3 separate regions of the Homo sapiens genome follow, and all the other regions are linked to region 1. Evidence: promoter capture Hi-C in human tissues and cell types (Jung and others, 2019). All regions are on one chromosome and are shown on one strand. The core of a region is centred on a gene start or on the middle of the fragment in contact, and the rest is flanking DNA. Distances in the headings are between cores, read along the strand shown.

Region 1 (3,918 bases), core at 899-3,398:
TTTGTGGTGGGAAGGAATGAGGAGGGAATATAGATATTCCATTTAAAGTTGGCCCTCGAGAGGGTGGGGGTGTTAACTGTTTCCTCAGTCCACTGTGGCTCCATTCTCCCTGCGTTCCACTCCTTTCAGTGAATGTAGAGGCCCAAGCCTAGGCTTTTAAACCCTCTTAAATGGAAGGGATTTTCATTCATTAGAAGTAACTGGAGACTTCTTGAGGTCCCGTGTGGAAGTGGATCATGGCCATTACATCCCTGCTATGGCCTAACCGAGGGAGCTGGGCCCAGACGCTAGTGTCGCTTGGCCAAAAGTCTGTTGCAGGTGGCTTGGATTATTGCCCTCCTCATTTTCCTAACAGACACCAGGGCTTAGGTTTCCTTGGGATTCCAGGCAGGCCCTGCCACTCCACGGGGAACGAGAGCAGTCACAGTAACTGAAGCTTGTGGGCCACACGGGTGGGCTGCATCCGAGGCAGGGCCTGTCTCCTCTGTTCAGTCTGTGCATCCATCACTTTCAAGCTTATTTGGAAACCCTTGATAAACACTTGAATGAGTTTGTGTCAAAGTTTTAAGTGATACAGGTTGCTGAAAAAGTTTTCTTGGAAATTAGTTACTGTTTCTATTGATGAAATTGACCAAAAGGGTATGAGAGCTGAGATTGATACTTCATATAGAATATGCACTGAGCATGTACCCAATCTGTACCTGGCCCTGTGCTGGGCCCTTGGAAATGTGGGGTTACTGTGAACCTCATTCTTGTCTGCCCTTAAGGAACCCACAGGTGACTAGAAATTAACGAATAGGTTGTATCAGTTCTTTTTAAGAAATTATTATTATTATTATTTTAGACAGAGTCTTACTCTGTCACGTAGGCTGGAGTGCAATGGCATGATCTCAGCTCACTGCAACCTCTGCCTCCTGGGTTCAAGCGATTCTCCTGCCTCAGCCTCCTGAGTAGTTGGGATTACAGGTGTGCGCCACCACACCCAGCTAATTTTTGTGTTTTTAGTAGAGATGGGGTTTTACCATGTTGGCCAGGCTGGTCTTGAACTACTGACCTCAGGTGATCCACCTGTCTTGGCCTCCCAAAGTGCTGGGATTACAGGCGTGAGCCACTGCGCCTGGCTAAGAAATTCTTTAGGTGGTATATGAACAAATCTCAAGAATCTTAGGCCCAGATCTCTTATTTATTTGTTTATTTTTATTTTTACATATTTTTTAAGACGGAGTCTCGCTCTTTCACCCAGGCCGGAGTGCAGTGGCACGATTTCAGCTCACTGCAAGCTCTGCCTCCCGGGTTCATGCCATTCTCCTGCCTCAGCCTCCTGAGTAGCTGGGACTACAGGCGCCTGCCACCACGCCTGGCTTATTTTTTTGTAGTTTTTTTTTTTTTTTTTTTTTAGTAGAGACGGGGTTTCACCATGTTAGCCCAGATGGTCTAAATCTCCTGACCTCGTGATCCGCCCGCCTCGTCCTCCCAAAGTGCTGGGATTACAGGCATGAGCCACTGTGCCCGGCCAACGGGCTGATTTTTATATTTTTAGTGGAGACAGGGTTTTACCATGTTGGCCAGGCTGGTCTCGAACTCCTGATCTCAAGTGATCTGCCTGCCTTGTCCTCCCAAAGTAATGAGATTACAGGTATGAGCCACTGCGCCCGGCCTGAAACCCTGTCTCTACAAAAAATACAAAAATTAGCTGGGCATGGTGGTGCATGCTTGTAGTCCCATCTACTTGGGAGGCTGACGTGGGAAGATTGCTTGAGCCCAGGAGATCAAGGCTGCATTGAACCAATGATCACACCACTGCACTCCAGCCTGGGTGACAGAGCAAGACCCTGTGTAGAAATAAATAAATAAATAATTATAAACAAAGAGAAGTCTTAGTTCATAAGTTAAATTATTAGACTTTCTCCTCTGGAGTGATAGAAATCGGTCCTCTGATGAAAACCATGATCTTTGCAGCTTTAAACCATCTGAAGCTTAGTTGGCATGAGAAGGTGGTTAGAAAACTCTTCATTGCTGAGAAGCAAATTCCAGAGGTTCATCTGCCAGGAGTAACTTGGATCTGAGGGATAGATACCTTTGCTCAAGAATGCAAATTTTCAGAGCTCGTGGGAGTGGAAGAATAGATACTCAGGCAAAAAAAATGGCATCTTTGTCTCCACAAGCTTCCTTTTAGCAGGCTGGGTTTTTTCACGGTCAGCCTGTTTGAAGCTTTACAGAAATGTTCTGCCTAAGTGGTTTGCATGCTTGGACAAACCCCAGAGTGGACACTGCACACTTGGGGGCGAAGGCATTCGTTTCATATTAGGGGACTTTGGAATTTCACTCCCTGGGATTTTTGTATTGCTTTCTCTTTGTGTTGGGATGAGTCCTATTTTTTTTTTTTTTTTGCCAGAATTCCTTCGGTCTTTCCATGAGCCCTTATTCTCTATCCAGATGTCTTTGGTTAGGTTTTTGAAATGCTACCATTTCCTTCACTTGATATTGGAAGGACCGTATCGGCCTTGTGTCTTTGTGTTTGGGTAGGTTTTACTCCTAAGCATTTATTCTGGGCAAGGTTCCTGCTAAGTGCTTGTGTTACATGGCCTCATGGGATTCTCCCATGACACCATCCTGGGGACTCCATGGTTGCCTGTGCTGCACAGTTATGGAGACTGGGGTGCAGAGTGTTTAAGGAATTTGCCCAAAGTCTTGGTACCTCATTCTGGCATTTCTTGGAATACTGATTCATGAAGTCTGTTTTATGTATGTATATCTTATTTTTCCCTACTCGATTATACATTTCAGGGTGGGCGTTGTTTTGTCAGTTGACCTGTTTAGCAAATTACTCTTTTTGACATAATTTGTAGTTGTCAAATAATTTGTAGAGGTTAAGAGCTGGTCTTTGCATCCAAAAGTACTGGACTTAGTTTCTAGTTCTGCTTCTTCCTGCTGTGACCCCATGGGCAAATTCCTTCTTGTCTCTGAGCCTGTTTAGGCCTTGGTGAGGAGTGTGGAGGCCTGCAAGCCCAGATTCCAGCTCTCTGCTGGGAAATTATTAAATAACTGCTTGGGGACCTTGCAGCCTCTCCTCACATTGCTGAGTTGTCCCACTTGGAAGTTCTTGTTTTCTTTTTCTTTTTTTTTGAGACGAAGTCTCAATCTGTCACCCAGGCTGGAGTGCAATGGCATGGTCTCAGCTTACTGCAACCTCCACCTCATGGGTTCAAGCAATTCTCCTGCCTCAGTCTCCCAAGTAGCTGGGACTACAGGCGTGTGCCACCATGCCCGGCTAATTTTTTTTTTTTTTTTCGAGACAGAGTCTTGCTCTGTTGCCCAGGCTGGAGTGCAGTGGTGCGATCGCTCATTGCAACCTCTGCCTCCCAGGTTCAAGTGATTCTCCTGCCTCAGCCTCCTGAGTAGCTGGGATTACAGTCGTGCGCCACCACGCCCAGCTAATTTTTGTATTTTTAGTAGAGATGGGGTTTCTCCACGTTGGTCAGGCTGGTCTCGAACTCCTGATCTAGTGATCCGCCCGCCTCAGCCTCCCAAAGTGCTGGGATTACTGGCATGAGCCACCGTACCTGGCCAGAACTTTTTTCTTTCTTAACTTTTTATTATGGAAAAAAAATTTTTTTTAGTTATTTATAGAGGCTGGGTGCAATGGCTCATGCCTCTAATCCCAGAACTTTGGGAGGCCAAGGCAGGAGAAGGCCAAGGCAGGCTTTAGTCCAAGAGTTCAAGACCAGCCTGGGCAACATAGAGAGACCCTGTCTTTAAATTATTTGTGGAGACGGGGTCTAACTGTGTTGCCCAGGCTGGTCTCTAACTCCTGGGCTCAAGCAGTCTGACAGGGTCTCACTCTGTTGCCCAGGCTGGAGGGCAGTGGTGCAATCATAGCTCACTGCAGCCTCGACCTCCTGGCTGAATCGATCCTCT
Region 2 (3,918 bases), core at 816-3,315, 500 kb after region 1:
AAGTCCAAGGCCAGTTACCAGTGACTTGTCCCACCTCTACCTTGCTGATTACAAACAGAAAGAGAAACTAGTTGTGGCCAAAGCTTGGGTCCTATTCTGGAGGTAGGGGGCCTGCTAGTGCTTCAGGGCCCCTTTTAGCCAGGTTCTGCTGGGGGAAAATGGGGTAGCGGCAAGAGGAGCCATCAGGTCTGTGTCAGCAAGTATGAGATCTGATACACAGCAGCGGCTGCCTGTTCTCCCCAGCCTTGCCAGGGAGGATGGCTGCACACGGTTCCCAGGCTCAGCCTGGTGGGGCTGTGGGTGTTGTGGGTGGCAGGGAGTAGGAAAGAACTAGTCTGCTGGTTTTCTCTCAAAGCCCTGTGAATTAACAGACACGCTCAGCGAGGGCCCTGAATGGAACAAGTGGCCCTCAGGCCGATCAAGGGGTCTCCCCAGAGGCACTCTCTGATCAAGCTCTGCAGCCCCCACCCCGAGGGCACGGGAATAGGCATCTGATTGTCACTGACGCCACACTGTACTGCACTGTCATTTGGCACAAGTGACGAGGTGCAGCATGGTGCGTGGGGCTGGGGATCATGAGAAAACCGGCGCTCCTGCTGGGAAAAGGCAGTGCTCTTGGCCTGAAAAGGGCAGCGACAGAGTGAGGCTTCTAGGCTTGAAAAAGCTGGCTCATTCGAGGCACCCCAAACTTTGATCTCCCATCCCCATTTCATGAGGCTTCAGTGCGCAATAGGGGCCCGAACAGCTCCGCCCACCTGCTCCCACTGCCCCGGTGTCTTCCACCCAGCCGCGTTCTTCCTGAGGAAGGAGGACGGTAGAAAAGCTTCCTCCGGGCCCTGCAGCCCACTCCCCATCCACACTGAGCCGTCTTTGTCCTGGCCTGTCCCTGGAGACTGGCAGGGTGCTACCCACATCCACCCCCAAACCTAGGCCCCCCTGACTGCCATTCATTTTCTCCTTCCACCTCACCTCCCAACCACCCAAGCCCAAGTCCTCCCCCACCCCTCACCTTGGAAATCCATCTTCTCTTGGACCCAAACACAACACTCCCACCCCGTTAAAAAAATTCTGTCTTTCTAGAGCAACAGTCTTAACCCACTAGTAACCTCGGAACCTTTTCTAGCTACTTCCAAATTAACCCCAAGGGTCCCTGTCCCCCGACTACTGGCGAGCCCCACTCTCACCATCCCTTTTCACCACCTCCACGACCCTGATCCTTCTCCGTCCCGGAAGCCTTCAAGAGTATCTTCTAATCTCCGCTGCCACCCACCCCAGGCTCTTCCTCCCATAAGCTTGCACCTCACCCTCCTCCTCCTCTGCAGTGCTGGGCTCTGGAGACCACCCTCCCCCACCCTCCCCCACCCTCGGGAGTCTCATCTGTAGAAGTGACCGCCCATCCTTGACCCTCTCCTCTGCTCCACAGGAGCCCAGGGGTCGCCCCTCCCCGCCCGGGCCCAGCTACCCTCCACCACCCCATCCAGGAGCAGCCCAGCCTCCCTTCGTCCCCCGTTCCCCGCATCCTCTCAGGACCAAACGCCTTCATCAGGGCCCGAATAGCTCCCCTCCCCAGCCCATCTTTCTTATTTCGTCCCCTGGGGTCCAAACACCTCCATCCTGAAACCCAACGCCCCATCCTGGGTCCAAAATCCTTTTGAGGGGTCCCACTGAGGGTCCCGATCCTCCATCCGGGGTTCAAATGTCCCCTTTAGGGGCTCAGATACCCATTTGTGGACTTAAACATCCCATTTGGTGCTAAAGTCGCTTCTGGAAACCTCTGGTGATCCAGACGTCCCGCTCTGGGTTCAACAGCCCCCGACAACGCGGGTAGAAAAGGGTCCCGAGGCTCTCGCCGGGCCCGGACGCCCCCCACTCTGGGCTCTGTCGCCCCCTCAGGGGTCCTGCCCCGTTAAGCCCGCCTCAGAGCCCGCAGCCTCGGCGACCCCCCAGCCTCACTCACCATGGCGAGGCCCGGGGTGTCCGGAGCACGGGGATCAAGGTTCCTCCGGCGGCGGCAGCAGCTGCAGCAGTTCCAGCTCCGCCGCGCGTCCGCGCCTCCACACTCACTGCCCGCAGCGCGCGCCGCCGCCGCCGCCGCCTCCCGCCCCAACGGTCCCTCAACGGCCGCCGCGCGCGCCCCGCCTCGCTCGGCCCCGCCCCACCCGGCCCGCGCGCCGCCGCACTGCGGCTCCCACGGATCCCTCCGCGCCCCGCTCCACACCTACGGGCCCGCGAATCTCTCGTCCCCACCCTGCACAGGAATTGGGTTTGCCGCCGGGCGCGCGCGCGCTCGCTCCCGTCGCCGGACTACTTTCCCTCGCCGCGCGCCCCGCCTCCCGGGCCCACTTCACTTTCTTCGGCGGAGGGGCACAGCTCGGCGGTGCGTGACGCGTCCCTCTGTGAGCCGCGTCACTATTGGGCCTGGCCCATGGCGGAAATGAGAGCTTGGCGCCCATTGGTCCGACCTTCCCTGCAATGCGTCAAACTGGGGCGAGCCACTGCAAGGTGGTGGTGGGTAAGTCTGAACTCTGTGGCCGCGTGGGGCTTTGAGGAGTAACGAGGCGAAGGGGGAAACGGCGTCGCCGTTAGAGAAGCAAATACGTCGTTTCTGTGGCCAGGAGGTGGTAAAAAGGCTGGCGACAAATGCAGAAGGGCTTTCTCGGCTCTCCCCTTTAACCGACGGACGATGGTTCAATCCAAAATGCTAGGGTTTAGAAGCTCCGCCCCTAACTGGGCCTTTGGAGGTGGCGGGGTCTCCAAGGTGCCACCTAACGCTCAGAGGTTCCGCCCTCCGTGGTCTTGTCTCTGCGTCCTAAGACGCACTCAGCCGGTGGGCGGGACCCCTGGGCCCGCTTCATTCTTGATCCGCTCAGGGTCTGTGAAATTAGGACCATCCCAGGACAGCCTGTGGGAACGGGGTATTCATTCAGTCATTCGTGCTATAAGCATCAATTAGGCGCCTGCTGTATGCAGGGACCTGAGCTTGGCTGGGCTGGGGAGACCATACTCCCCAACCAGCCTCTCCAGACAGACGACCTCTTTCCTTATTCCAGTGTTCCAGCCATAGGAGGAAAAAGAACTGAAACTTTGTTTATAGGAGCTCAGAAAATGATCACCCCTGCCCCCTCCCCCGTTTAGGATAGGAGCTGACAGTCTCCTGCGTGTCCCCTCCCCACCATGTTGATGGTTAAGAGATGGGCAAACGAGTCAGGCTGGACCAATCATTATGCTCCACCTGGAACAGAATGGAGACTGAACCAATGAGAGTCCTTCCCTGGGGTTTGGATCTGCAGCCTGGGCACAAGAAGCCTTTTCCTTTTGGGTGGGTCCTTCCCATAGATTCTGACTATGGTCATTTTCCCACTCTGCCCCCTATCTTGAGGAACAAAGTGTCTAGAGAAGAAGAGAAAAATAAAACTGACACAGTGGAGAGGTAAAGAAGATGGCCGGGCGCGGTGGCTCATGCCTTTAATCCTAACACTTGTTACTCAGTCTCAAATCTCATGTTAAAATGTGATCACCAATGTTGGAGGTGGGGCCTGGTGGGAGGTGTTTGGGTCATAGGGGTGGATCCCTCATGAATGACTTGGTGCTGTCCTCACGGTAACAAGTGAGTTCTTATTCTGTTAGTTCACACAAGATCTGTATTTTTTTTGAGACGGAGTCTTGCTCTGTCACATAGGCTAGAGTGCAGTGGCATGATCTTGGCTCACTACAACCTCCGCCTCCCAGGTTTAAGCGATTCTCCTGCCTCAGCCTCCCAAGTAGTTGGGACTACAGGCACCCACCACTACACTTGGCTAATTTTTGTATTTTTAGTAAAGACAGGGTTTCACCATGTTGGCCAGGCTGGTCTCAAACTCTTGAGCTCAAGTGATCCGCCTGCCTTGGCCTCCCAAAGTGCTGTAATCACAAGAATAC
Region 3 (3,918 bases), core at 469-2,968, 480 kb after region 1:
TCCTTGTAACAGGAAGCGAGAGAGGGAGTCTCCGGGAACCAGAGGCCCCCCCGATGCCGAAACAAGATGCACGCCTGCCAGGCATCATCCTTCATTAATATGATATAACTTCCTGAGTTCCCTCTGGTCTGTCTGGGGACCTCACGGCATGAGGCGGGACAACGTGGCAGGACCTGGAGCCCACATGTACAGGCACCCCCAGAGCAGGGCTGGGGGGTCCCTTAGGGAGCCACGGTGGGGCTGGAACTTGGGCGTCCATCCTGCTGGAAGCTGCGGGTGCCAGCTGGGCAAGGGTGATAGGGAGATGGGGGGGAGGGGCAAAGGGGTTGTGGTCACACACCGGGGTACAGAGGGCAAGACGGCAGCTGCCCACAGTCCAGTCCTTGGGTTGGACACATCCCTCCTGGCCTTGGACAAGAGACACCCGCACAGCCTCTCTCCTTGTTACAAAGACCAATCTGGGATGTGCTGCAGGCCGAGGCTGGCCACCAGGTCCCTGAGGCCCGTGTTACCCCACGCACAGAGAAGGAGGCTGAAGTCTACCAGCTCCCTCTCCTCACCTGGGACCATCTCGCAGCAAGAAAAAAGGTGGTCAGATGGAAACAGGAAGCCAAGTCGAATGGATCTGAGACCGTCCCCCTGAGAAACAGCGGGGCTCAGAGAGGGTCTCTGAGGTTTTATCTGGCCCTTTTGGGCTGGGAGGCTGCCTGGGAAGCCACCGACTCCGTGGGAAGGGAGACCCGTGAACGCTGTGCGGGTAGCGGGAACATGTGGGTCTGTCACACTGGCCCGAGGCTGCAGCGGTGGTGGCTTGGCTGTGTTTGGGGAGGGTGGGGGACACATGGCAGCAATGTTGGAGCTGTGGACAGCTTCCTGTGATCAAAATATGATTCCTGAAGGTCAAGGTCACCAGAGCTTGGCCTGGGGCCTAGGGGTGCTGTGCGAGAAGTCGGACGGTGGCCCAGTGCTACCTTTCCATCATGGGCCATGGAAGTCTCCCAAGCCTGTCCCTGACAACTGGACACCAAATACACCCCTTCATGCTTTCTTCTCGGGTCTCTGCAGGGTGAGCTGGGTGCCCAGGGACAGGCTCGAGGGACTGGCATGTCTCTCTCTGGCCAAGCCTCCTTCCTCAGCTTTCTGGAAGGAGTGAATTGTGTCCAGGGACCAGAACTCTCAGTGGTGTCTGGAAAACACTACATCAGAGAGGAATTTCCTGGTCATTTCTCAATCCCTGGGCAATGTCCTCAGCCCCGGGGCCTGGAGCCCAGAATAGATCCCAGAGGCCACCCTGAGACAGCCCAGGCCAAGACCACCCCACTGAAGCCTGGTCAACTGTGCTCTTCAGGTCCCTCCTAGAGGCCCCCTACTACCCCGGGAGGCTCCAAGCCTAAGTGATGGTGACTCAGGAATTCCCCACCCAGGCCAGAGAGGGAGACACTGGGGGAGGGAGGAGACCTGTGTGTGGGGAGGTGGCAGGTGGCTCAGTGATGGGAACCAAGAGAGGATGTGGGGAGGAGAGTGGAGGCAGCGATGGGAGATGGATGTCCTGGATTGGGCGGGTGGACGGGGAGTGGGGAGTGTGCCAGGGGGCCCTCTGGAGAACAGTGAGGGAGGGCGGGGCAGAGAGAGGAAATGAAAAAGCTGGGGTGAGCAGGCAAGCTGAGGAGGGTGGGAAGGAGGGAGGGACGGAGGGAGGAGGGAAGGAGAAGCTGACACACAGACCGACACAGGCAGCGAGAGACACGAGGAGCAAAGCAAGTGAAGGCACAGACGCACGGGACAGGAGAGCCTGGGCAAGACTGGAGAGGTGCGGTGAGGGGCTGGGGATGCAGCAACACAGAGCAGGAGCAGGTAGAGGGTGTGGGGTTAGAGGGAGAAAGGTACGGGGAGGACAAGGACAAGGGAGGGGACAGAGACAGGGAGATATCAGCAAGAGACCGAGAGACAGGGAGGGAAAGAACTGGCAATGCCCGGATGTTCTCTGTCTCTTTAATGGCAGAAACAGAGCTAGAGAAGGAAAGAAACAGGAGGTGGTGGGGGGGTGGTGGGTGTCAGGCATGGTGGCTCACACCTGTAATCTCAGCACTTTGGGAAGCCAAGGTGGATGGATCACCTGAGGTCAGGAGTTCGAGACCAGCCTGACCAACATGGTGGAACCCCGTCTCTACTGAAAATACAAAAATTAGCTGGGCGTGGTAGTGGACGCCTGTAATCTCATCTACTCCAGAGGCTGGGGCAGGAGAATCGCTTGAACCCAGGAGGTGGAGGTTGCAGTGAGCCGAGATCATGCCATTGCTCTCCATCCTGGACAACAGAGTGAGACTCTGTCTCAAAAGAAACGAAAGAAAAGAAAGAGAGAAAGAGAAACAGGAAGGTGGGGAGAGACAGAGAGAGATACTGGAGAAGCCAGAGGGGAGAGGACTGCATACCCGCACACACAGGAGAACTGGGGGTTGGCTGGGAGGCCCCAGCTGCCAAAAGGACTGGCCAGCAGGGACATCTGAGTGGGCTGGGTGGTGGGGGTAGCCCTGGCTCCCTCTGACCCCCCACCTTGGGAACCCTCCAGCCCAGACCTGGGATGGCGGATTCGTGCAGGAACCTCACCTACGTGCGGGGCTCGGTGGGGCCGGCCACCAGCACCCTGATGTTCGTGGCCGGTGTGGTGGGCAACGGGCTGGCCCTGGGCATCCTGAGCGCACGGCGACCGGCGCGCCCCTCGGCCTTCGCGGTGCTGGTGACCGGACTGGCGGCCACCGACCTGCTGGGCACCAGCTTCCTGAGCCCGGCCGTGTTCGTGGCCTATGCGCGCAACAGCTCCCTGCTGGGCCTGGCCCGAGGCGGCCCCGCCCTGTGCGATGCCTTCGCCTTCGCCATGACCTTCTTCGGCCTGGCGTCCATGCTCATCCTCTTTGCCATGGCCGTGGAGCGCTGCCTGGCGCTGAGCCACCCCTACCTCTACGCGCAGCTGGACGGGCCCCGCTGCGCCCGCCTGGCGCTGCCAGCCATCTACGCCTTCTGCGTCCTCTTCTGCGCGCTGCCCCTGCTGGGCCTGGGCCAACACCAGCAGTACTGCCCCGGCAGCTGGTGCTTCCTCCGCATGCGCTGGGCCCAGCCGGGCGGCGCCGCCTTCTCGCTGGCCTACGCCGGCCTGGTGGCCCTGCTGGTGGCTGCCATCTTCCTCTGCAACGGCTCGGTCACCCTCAGCCTCTGCCGCATGTACCGCCAGCAGAAGCGCCACCAGGGCTCTCTGGGTCCACGGCCGCGCACCGGAGAGGACGAGGTGGACCACCTGATCCTGCTGGCCCTCATGACAGTGGTCATGGCCGTGTGCTCCCTGCCTCTCACGGTGAGTCCCCTCCGGAGCTGGGAGGAGTGGGGAGAGGAGGAGGGCAGCTCTGTGGGTTGTGCCCATGTCACAGATGGGGAGACTGAGGCTCAAAAGAGGTGAGACATCGTGGGCATGGTGGCTCACGCCTGTAATCCCAGCATGTAGAAAGGCCGAGGCAGGACCGGATGCGGTGGCTCACACCTGTAATCCCAGCACTTTGGGAGGCCGAGGCCGGCGGATCATTTGAGGTCAGGAGTTCGAGACCAGTCTGGCCAACATGATGAAACCCTGTCTCTACTAAAAATACAACAAATAAATAAATAAAAAGTAGCCGGACGTAGTGGCACATGCCTGAAGTCCCAGCTACTTGGGAGGCTGAGCCAGGAGAATCGCTTGAACCCCGGAGGCGGAGGTTGCAGTGAGCTGAGATCGTGCCACTGCACTATAGCCTGGGTGACAGAGTGAGACCCCGTCCCAAAAAAAAAAAAAAAAAAATAAGAAAAAAAAGAAAAAGAAAGGCGAGGCAGGACGATCACTTGAGCCCAGAGGTTTGAGACCAGCCTGGGCAACATGGTGAAACCCCATCT

Evidence for each region. The method cuts DNA at HindIII sites, captures the fragments that hold promoters and counts their contacts. A contact is called where the count stands out against the background at its distance.
Region 2: a contact is called between the fragment with the promoter of CALM3 here and a fragment that was not itself captured in region 1, in 1 of the 25 tissues and cell types used here (bladder).
Region 3: the fragment with the promoter of PTGIR here is called in contact with a fragment that was not itself captured in region 1 in 3 of the 25 tissues and cell types used here (dorsolateral prefrontal cortex, spleen and stomach).

Annotation. Positions count from the first base shown.
Region 1 is chr19:47,101,242-47,105,159 of GRCh38, reverse strand. The region is part of intron 2 of ZC3H4 (zinc finger CCCH-type containing 4); the gene reads left to right. Among named protein-coding and RNA genes, the nearest start is that of ZC3H4, 11 kb to the left of the region's middle. The HindIII fragment of the contact is 3,344 bases long and covers 477-3,820 here.
Region 2 is chr19:46,599,477-46,603,394 of GRCh38, reverse strand. It overlaps CALM3 (calmodulin 3), which reads right to left and starts at 2,065. Exons shown (of 6, transcript NM_005184.4): 1 at 1,958-2,065. The coding sequence starts at 1,960. It also overlaps the pseudogene PPP5D1P. RefSeq lists enhancers at 503-572, 2,301-2,800 and a silencer at 2,031-2,170. The HindIII fragment of the contact is 7,591 bases long and covers 1,059-3,918 here.
Region 3 is chr19:46,622,889-46,626,806 of GRCh38, reverse strand. PTGIR (prostaglandin I2 receptor) reads left to right here and starts at 1,718. Exons shown (of 3, transcript NM_000960.4): 1 at 1,718-1,810; 2 at 2,570-3,349. The coding sequence starts at 2,582. RefSeq lists an enhancer at 1,003-1,503. The HindIII fragment of the contact is 28,599 bases long and covers 1-3,918 here.